3 separate regions of the Homo sapiens genome follow, and regions 1 and 3 are each linked to region 2. The links are contacts of gene promoters, found by promoter capture Hi-C in blood cells and fetal thymus (Javierre and others, 2016). All regions are on one chromosome and are shown on one strand. Each heading gives the region's core, a stretch centred on a gene start or on the middle of the fragment in contact. The rest is flanking DNA. Distances are from core to core; before and after follow the strand shown.

Evidence for each region. The method cuts DNA at HindIII sites, captures the fragments that hold promoters and counts their contacts. A CHiCAGO score of 5 or more calls a contact.
Region 1: a fragment that was not itself captured here is called in contact with the fragment with the promoter of BTLA in region 2 in 7 of 17 cell types (total B cells, naive B cells, naive CD4 T cells and 4 more); the score reaches 8.3 in total B cells.
Region 3: a contact is called between a fragment that was not itself captured here and the fragment with the promoter of BTLA in region 2, in 14 of 17 cell types (total B cells, activated CD4 T cells, naive B cells and 11 more). The highest score is 14.5, in total B cells.

Annotation. Positions count from the first base shown.
Region 1 is chr3:112,311,956-112,315,080 of GRCh38, forward strand. The region is part of intron 1 of LOC105374042 (a long non-coding RNA gene); the gene reads left to right. Among named protein-coding and RNA genes, the nearest start is that of SLC9C1, 19 kb to the left of the region's middle. The HindIII fragment of the contact is 1,837 bases long and covers 805-2,641 here.
Region 2 is chr3:112,498,023-112,500,944 of GRCh38, forward strand. BTLA (B and T lymphocyte associated) reads right to left here and starts at 1,450. Exons shown (of 5, transcript NM_181780.4): 1 at 1,249-1,450. The coding sequence starts at 1,336. RefSeq lists enhancers at 1-33, 902-951, 1,042-1,171. The HindIII fragment of the contact is 2,386 bases long and covers 447-2,832 here.
Region 3 is chr3:112,352,771-112,355,620 of GRCh38, forward strand. The region is part of intron 5 of CD200 (CD200 molecule); the gene reads left to right. Among named protein-coding and RNA genes, the nearest start is that of CD200, 21 kb to the left of the region's middle. RefSeq lists an enhancer at 1,989-2,618. The HindIII fragment of the contact is 913 bases long and covers 823-1,735 here.

The DNA of each region.
Region 1 (3,125 bases), core at 473-2,972, 190 kb before region 2:
AGGTAAATAGGCTTTTAGTGTGGGTTTTATGCAAATGTGGCTAAAAGTTGGGTTGCATTATTGTTTACTATAGCAGCAGGTGTCAAGGGCTTCACATATCTATAGTTTCCTTGTTTTTTTCTTCCCCATTTTCTTTGAATATCTCTAAGAACTGCTTATTAATTAGAGTCTGAGACTTGCAAGTATTTCAGCTATAATCCAATGCTATTATACTAGAGCTCTATTGATGGTGGTAAGGAATTGTGGAGAGAAAGCATTCTAAAATCTTATGATTAATTCTCACTCTTTTAGTGGGCCTGTGTACCTTGGCTATAGGCTATTGAGGTGGGAAATTAAAGAAAAATAAAATTAAAAAGAAAGAGAAAAAAGTTTTTCTGTATTAGGCTGATTTGTCCCAGGGGCAGCAACAGGCACAGCCCAGACCCAGGAAGAGTCTTGATAATATTATCTAATGTGCTCTGGAGACTCTCCCAGCACTCTCTCAACATAAGGAGAAGAAAAACAAATTTTCCTTTGTTTTATGGAATGAGTTCACAGATTCCTGTTCTCTGTAACTAGTGACTTCAAGTAATCTGTTTTATCTAAGCAGTAGAGTGAAGGTCATGAGCGTCTGAGCAGATCTCAGTTACAGTCACCTGGGCGCCATAGTGAAGGTTATAGGATACGCCTGTGCCTAGGCAAACCCAGATAATGGACATCTGGGTTGCATAGCAATGGTTATGTGTAATCCTGAGTTATGAACCTGTTACAATTTGATTAACCATCTTTGTCCTGCCTCTGTATCCCTGCTTTCATGCCACTGTAAGCTTACTTCAAGCTAGCCCACCTTCTTTTGTGAAGTGTGTATAAAAGTCAAGTGCTGTCTTCGTTCTGGGCCCAGTCTTTTGGACGTTGAGTCAGCTGGGCCTGAGTGCACTCAATAAAAGATTCTCCTGTTTCAACTCTAGGTCTCTCTCTCATTCTCCTGAATCCCACAACACTTATGACCTTCATACATTTTCTTACTTATTTTTCTCTCGCTTACCACTTTAGATGAGACAGGAAAGCAAGAAATGACTGGAGTTAGGTCATTTTCCTTCCATCTACATAAGATAAGGTTCTGGTTATATATATCTTTTTTTTTCTTTTTTTCCTAGAAAGTAGGTTTTTTTTTTTTTAATGAAAAATGCACTGGGCTTATTTAAAAATGGTTACATTTCCTCTTCTGTTTTTAAACATATGAAGTGATTTTTCTTGGCTCTTTACTATGAAAAGCTGATAAGGTTCCTGGAGGTGAAACCTATGGAATTGTGGGGTCTCTCTAAGACTGCAGCTCTGAAGAGTTTATCACTCTCAAGCTGATTCACATGAAGCCTCTGGCAGTCCATCAAAATTATCATTGATATGTCCCTACCATTTTATAACACCAGTGACTTTCATTCCGAGTAAGCTGATCTCAGTGCCTTTCTATTCACGTCTCTGCTGATTTCAGGGTTGTAGTTTTCCCTGTGCCTTTAATTCTCTGAAGAGTCTAATAAAGACCATTGATTTTCAGTTTGTTCAGCTTTTTTCTTGTGTTAGGATGAGATGATGAATTCCAAGCTCTTTGTATGTTAAAACTGAAACTGGACATCTTATCTATTTTGGAATATTGACCTTGAATCCAGGTTCTTGCTGAATTGACTTGTTAATTGTAATAATTTCTCTGTAAATTTTTCTAATTCTTTAAGTACAAAATCATGTCACCTGGAAATAAAGACTGATTTAATGCATTCCCATCTTTATTCATTTTATTTCTTTCTCATGGCTTATTGTCCAAGCTAGGATCTCCAGTCAACCATTGGAGAGAAGGACTGAGAGTGGTGGGAATTTTTGTCTTGTTACTGAGCTCAAAGGAAAAGCATTAACAGTTTCACCATTAAGTGTAATGTTAGCTGAAGGTTTGTTGTAGTTATCTTTCATTATATAAAGGAAATTCTCTTATATTCCTAGCTAGCTATTATTCATTCATAAATAGGTATAGAAACATATTAAATGCTTTTTTCTGAATCTATTAATCACATTATTTTTCTCACTTTTTCTGTTAATATGGCTGTGTTAGTCCATTCTCACACTGCTATAAAGAAATACCAGAGCCTAGGTAATTTATAAAGGAAAGAGGTTTAATTGACTCACGGTTCCACATGGCTGGGGAGGCTTCAGGAAACTTATGATCATGGTGAGAGGCAAAGAGGAAAGGAGGACCTTCTTCAGATGGTGGCAGGAGAGAGAAGTGACTGAGCAAGAGAGAAGCTATCAAACACTTATACAACCATCAGATCTTGTGAGAACTCGCTCACTATCATGAGAACAGCATGGGAGGAACTGCCCTAATGATCCAATCACTTCCCACCAGTTCTCTCCCTCAGCACCTGGGGATTACAATTCAAGATGAGATTTGGGTGGGGACACAAAGCCTAACCATGTCAATGGTGATTTAAATTGATTGATTTGTGAATATTAAATCATCCTTGCATTACTGGAGAGAAGGAAACCTTAGTGATAATTACTGTGTATCCTTTTATAACGTATTGGTTAATTTGATTATCCAATATTTATTTTAGGATCAAAGCCCAGGAAAGATACTGGTCTGCAATTCTTTTTTCTTGAAATATTTTTATTAAGCTTTATTATTAAGCTTATACTGTGTAAGTAAAAAAAGTAATTAAGGCAGATCTTGATTGATTTTGAGATTCATTTTGCCACGGTTGAGGATGTGCCCGGGAAAAACAAACACAAGTCACAGTAGGATCTGTGCCCTGTGCTTTTTTTCAGAGAGGATTTTGGGAATGTCAATGTTTAAAGAGGAAAGAGGAAGCAGAAGGGGAAGAAAAAAACAGGAAGGAGGGTAGTAATTAGCACTCAGTGAGTCTGTTTTACATGTGAAGAGGAGGGAGTGGGACAAAGTCAATTATGCATTCATTTCATGCTCAGTAAATCTACATTCTACATAACATAAGCATGTGAAATTACAGTAATCTATTTGGGAAAAAAAAGGAAGGTAGTCTCTTGTTTCACTTAGTTCCCAAACTCAACTTTCCCTTTAGCATAGTGAGTTCAGGATCCTGAGATTTTATTTTCTTCCACATTTTCCCCAATTGTTCAAA
Region 2 (2,922 bases), core at 200-2,699:
TGACTTTCTTAAAAAACAGGTTGATGGCAAGAAAAGAGAACTGAGTAGATGTTATAAATAGTTAAGTACAAATCTATCACTACTTCTTGCGAAAATGCTCAGGCTGCCACACTGATGATGAATAGATAGCTCGTTCTTCCCAAACTGAGTGCAGTAGAGTGTTGCAGTGCTCAGTTGGGTAGGACAGATGTTGGATAATTGGGGTTATCCAACATCTCTACTAAAAATACAAAAATTAGCTGTGCGTGGTGGAAGGTGCCTGTAATCCCAGCTACTAGGGACGCTGAGGCAGGAGAATAAATTGAACCCGGGAGGAAGAAGAATCGATTGAACCCGGGAGGCAGAGGATGCAGTGAGGCGGGATCACGCCATTGCACTCCAGCCTGGGTGACGAGAGCAAAACTCTTGTCTCAAAAAAATAAAAAAATAAAACCTGAAAAATCAGAAGCTTCTGATGAGCCACTCATAGGCTTTTCCTCTTGATAATATGTGGGTTCCTATGCAATATAAGGTAGGAAGCGACTTTACAATAAAAAAGAAATTGCCTTTTTTTTTTTTTTTTTTTTTTTGCCTGTATAAAGTCTTTGCAGGGGTGGCTAAATATCATCTTTGCAGAATCCAACTTATTTTCTGTGTTCAATTGACAACCAAGTAGGAACCATTCCCTTTCAACAAAATAGAAGCAATGACGAAAAGTTCTGCTCCTATATTTTGTAGCATTTTCTCAATCGGTATTCTCAAGGCATACATCCCAATGAAGCAAGTATAGAGATTTTATTTAGAGGTAATATTATTTGAGGGTAACCATGGAGATATGTATAATTCCGATTATCCAACAACTGTCCTACCCAACTGAGCACTGCAGCACTCTACTGCACTCAGTTTGGAAAGAACGAGCTATCTATTCATTATCAGTATGGCAGCCAGAGCATTTTTGCAAGAAGTAGTGATAGATTTGTACTTAACTATTTATAACATCTACTCAGTTCTCTTTTCCTACCATCAACATGTTTTTAAGAAAGTCAGCCAAGCTATTGATGCGATGCCTATGATTAGGCAGGTGAATACTATGTTCTAATTTGGTTTATGCTCTACGATGTCTTCGGTAAGCAAATGTAACAGCTTGGTTTCATCTACGATTACCCACTTCGTATAAACGTTACACCGTACTAAGTTCAGCAAGGGAGAATGTTGCCTCCAAGACCCCCTGAGAAATAAAACCAGAAATAACCTAAGCAGGTGCCTTACCATGGATGTTCCAGATGTCCAGATATGGGATTAAGAAGAAGACCCAAAATAATTTCCCAGTTCCAAGCATGGCAGGCAATGTCTTCATTTCCTGCACATATCAGTGATGGAAAAACTGCTCAAGTAGAAGGCTTTGCTTCGTCTTCTGAGTGCTGCAGAGTTGGGTCAGTTTACCTACCCCAGTGGCATCTGTGAAATAACTAAAAAAAAAAAAAAAAGAAGAGAGAGGTGGTAAGAGAGGAGAGTAGGAAGAGCCTGGATGATTTTGTGAAAAAAAGTGAACAGAAAGACGATGTGGTACTCTGTTCTGTGGTTTTTGCTTCTTGTCAGGTTGGCTGTTCACTTTCAAACACTGTGATCTGCAAAGCAGCTCAGTCCTTAACTTCTCCTTCCGCTCTACCACGTTTTTGCCCCAGGTTGAGGTTTTTCCTGCACTCAATGTTCAGTGAAATGAGCAATTAAACTTTAAAGAAATCTGTATTGTTGCAGTCTTTAAGTTGAGATTTTAATCAAATTAAGGTCAGGAAATTTATGGTAAAACTATCAATGGTAAGTATACATTTTCCCCTTTGTGATAGCTTGTGATTATGAAACTTCTTTTATGTAAAAGATTTTAGGTTTCTTTTTTTTCCTGTACATGTCACGGTAAGATGAGGATGCTTATTGTCATTAAACCAGTGAAGATTTATCTCAGGTTATGGAGAAAATGAGTGACAGGAAGCACTTCCTCAACAGAAGAAGGAAGAGCAGCCGTCTTTAATCTGTGGATACATATCAATGGAACAAGATCATCATTAATATTGGCTACATGTTCTCTCTAGATAATAAAGTTCTAATCTAAAGGAGATCTTGAATATCAATTAAAGGAAATTTCCATTTTAAACATTCTTCATGCAGTTGTTGTCTCGATGAAGTAGAATAGAAACAGTAAAGGAAGAAATGGAAAAGTTCAAGATCAGATAGCACAGGCCACCATAGGACTGTTTTCTCCACATCCACTTGTAATAATTAGCTTAGCTTATAGTCATAGGAGCTAATCAAATTCATCTGCCATTTGAGACTCCAAATGAGAGATCTAGATTTGTGGCATTAGTGATCATTGACAGAAGTCGATTATATAAGTTTTTTCCTCAGAGACTGATGATTTTATTCCAAGGCCAAACTTCAATAGTTTTAAGTTCAAGGAAAGTTTTAAGAGCAAGGAAAGTGTATAGATTGCTGGACATTTTGACCTGACATGGGAAACTGATGGGCAATACTTAATTCAGAGCTCCCAGTTGAGTTGCCAAGGGTAAATTAAAATTAAAAAACAGTTATCATGTATTTATTGAGTCAAATAGACAATGTGCTATGGTTGGAGATGAATGATGAATGAGTTGCTATTGCTGATTTTAAAGAACTCGTTCAATCAGTATTACGACTTCCTCACATCCACCTTTAGTGTTGGTCTTATAATATAGTATAATACAGAGAGGGTACACATAGCCTTTTAGAATTTCTGTTACTAATCAAATAAACATCCTGGGAAATATTAAGGCAGTATTTTCACAGCTCCTTCCTTTTCCTGTGTTCACAGTGAGTAAAAGCTTCTTGAGGCAGCTGAAGCAAGGCTCATTGTCCCTTTAAAATGGCCCACAGGTCAAAAGCCATAACCTTATGGCTTATGGGTTACAT
Region 3 (2,850 bases), core at 29-2,528, 150 kb before region 2:
ACTCATTGCTCACAAATGCCTAAGCAAACTTACAGTTACTGATGTTATTTTTACGTAGAAGTTAGACGACCATTACTTTTCTTGTGATCCTGTATAATGCCAGAGAGCATGACGTTGGTTTTTTCCAACTGCGAAGTAGCACAGGCCATTTTTCTGCACCACTCCTGATAGAATTATCACAGTTACTTCCCAGGAGACTACCACAGTAAGACTAATAAGATTTCAAAGAGCATTCTTTTCTCTTTCATGAATCCAGCACTTTAAAACAGTAAGTGAGAAAGAATTAAAATTTCCTAGGGAAATTTTCCACCATCTCGAAATACTTCTTTCTATTAAAACCCAGTGATTTCATAAAGTTGTGCCTTTCACATATATGACAATGTAGTTAAATTTGGAGTTGAGAATAATCTTTTATTTCTCATTAGTCAACCCACCAACAATTACATGCTTCTCAGAAACAATAAAAGAAACTTCACTTTGAGGCAGATCATCATAGACAATCACCTAATTTTTAGGCAGCTTTATTTTGTTTGGTTTGGTTTGCTTTGCTTTGGTTTGGTTGAGTCAAGGCTGCTTTGGAGAACAATAGAAAATTTAGACAATCATGTAAAATTTATATGCCAAACTTCACTTTTTTTTCAAGTACTAGCTAATCCATGTAGAAATATGTTTTTCATCTGCATGAGCTGTATATTTATCTTGATTTCCTTCTCTTCACAATAACCTAACCTATGAATGGGTTCCTGACAATGTATAATAACAATGGCAAAGTTAATAAAACGTCATTTCCTGGATAACAGCATGTGACTTTCTCCTATTTTAAGCTTAATACTTAATACAAACAACAAAGGTGTTCGATAAACAATTTGTGATGATGTAATTGGTCATTAGTTGAAAGGGGAAAACAAAAAATATCTGTTCACCCCTCCTGAAATAACAACCTTTGCTTTGCTCAGAAAGCACTTTTGCTTCCCGTACAAAGGCTGTATGAATGGGTAGCCCTCTGTCCGGGCTGTATGAAATAAGAACCTTTGCTTTGCTCAAAAAGTACTTATGCTTCCCTGACAGAGGCTGGATGAATGGCACTACCCAACCCCACCCCAGTATCCTCATAGTTCCAGGAGGAAGAAATGTGATGCTTTACATGAGAAAAGCGATAAAGAATCTTCATTGAACTGCTTAGATTAGTATTGCTGGGAGAAATCTTGAATTCCAGGGCTATTTTTCCGCAAAAATTTTACAAATTTTGGGTGATTTACCTATCATGCCAAGATGACATACATAATCTTATCACAAAACCCTTAGCAAACAGATTCTTAATGCCTGGACATTCTTGCCTGGAGCTGTTCTTTGCTGTTCTCTCTAACATCTAAACCCACATGGGCATAGATGACCCAAATTTTAAGTTTCAGTCTGTATGTGGGGAACATCTCTAGGAATCAAGACATCTCAGTCTCCTGCCCAATAATTCAATGTGTGTTCAGTCCTCAAATGGCATACTCATTCCCTTGGCTTTTTGGCCATGGGGCTTTTCAAGGAGATTAGCTGTCAGTACCTGTTAGACTAATTAATGAAAAACAAAAAGGATGAGAAAATCTACCAGCTGAAAAATCCTCTAACATCTCTGCTCCTTTTGCATTTTAGTTTGCATATATCCTTTACCTAGTGTCTATTACCAGTTTGTTTTGTTTGGAACCGCTGTGCATTTCAGTAGTATAGTCACACCCATATAATAAGCTTGCCTCTAAACAGATACAAGGCCCTAGCCTCTACTAACAAAAGAAGCCAACTGTATGCTATTTAAACTGGAAAAGATTGGGCCACTTAATGAAAGTACTCAACATGGCTTACAGAGGGGGAAACATCATAAATGCTGTATTAATTTTCTATTGCTTCTTTACCAAATTATCACGCACTTAGCGGCTTAAAACAACACACATGTATTATACTACAGTTCTAGAGATCAGAAGTCCAACATGGGTCTCACTGGGTTTAAAACAAGGTGTCTGCAGGGAGACATTCCTTTCTGGAGGCTCTAGGGGAGAATCCTTTTTTTCCCTCTCTCTCTTTTCCTGCTTTTAGAGACTGCCCACTTTCCTTGCCTTGCATCTTCAAAACCAACAATGTCCAGTTGAGTCTTTTTCACACTGAATCACTCTAAATCTGAAACATTTGTCTCCTTTTTCCTTTATAAGGATCCTTGTGATTACAATGGGCCCAACTGCATAATCCATCTCAGGGTCCTTAATTTAATCACATCAGCAAAATTCCTTTAGCCATGTAAAGTAACATATTCACAGATTCCTGGAATTAGAATATGGATGTCTTTGGGGTGCCATTATTATGCCTATCACAAATGCTAAGAGGGTGTGGGAGTGACTTACTTAGAGGGACAGCTGTTTACTGACCTCCCAGTGGAAGCATTCTCTCTCTGTAATTCCATAGCCTTTGCTCTGTTCCTGGCAACTCTCTATCAAAGAACTTCAAAACCTGGTCAGAACCTCTGACCAGGCAAGGCTTTATTTTCCAGGATTATATTTTGTCTCTCAAATCTGTAATGCAAAAGCATCACTTCTGCTTTCCCTTGTTTTCTATCACTAACTATAATATTACAAAAACTTTTTTTTTCTTAGAATCTCAGTTCTTGCATATTTCCTGCTTCTCCCTATTCCTACCTTTTCATAGAGGAAGCAATTCTGACTTCCTTTGTCTTCGTCATAAGCATCCCGTAAACACAAGTTCACAGGGAACTGTGAAAGTTCAAAGTGGGAAAATTATATTTATCACTATGTGTGGTGATAGTAGGCATAACCAAATTGGTCTTTCCCCGCTTATCATAACGTATTAAAC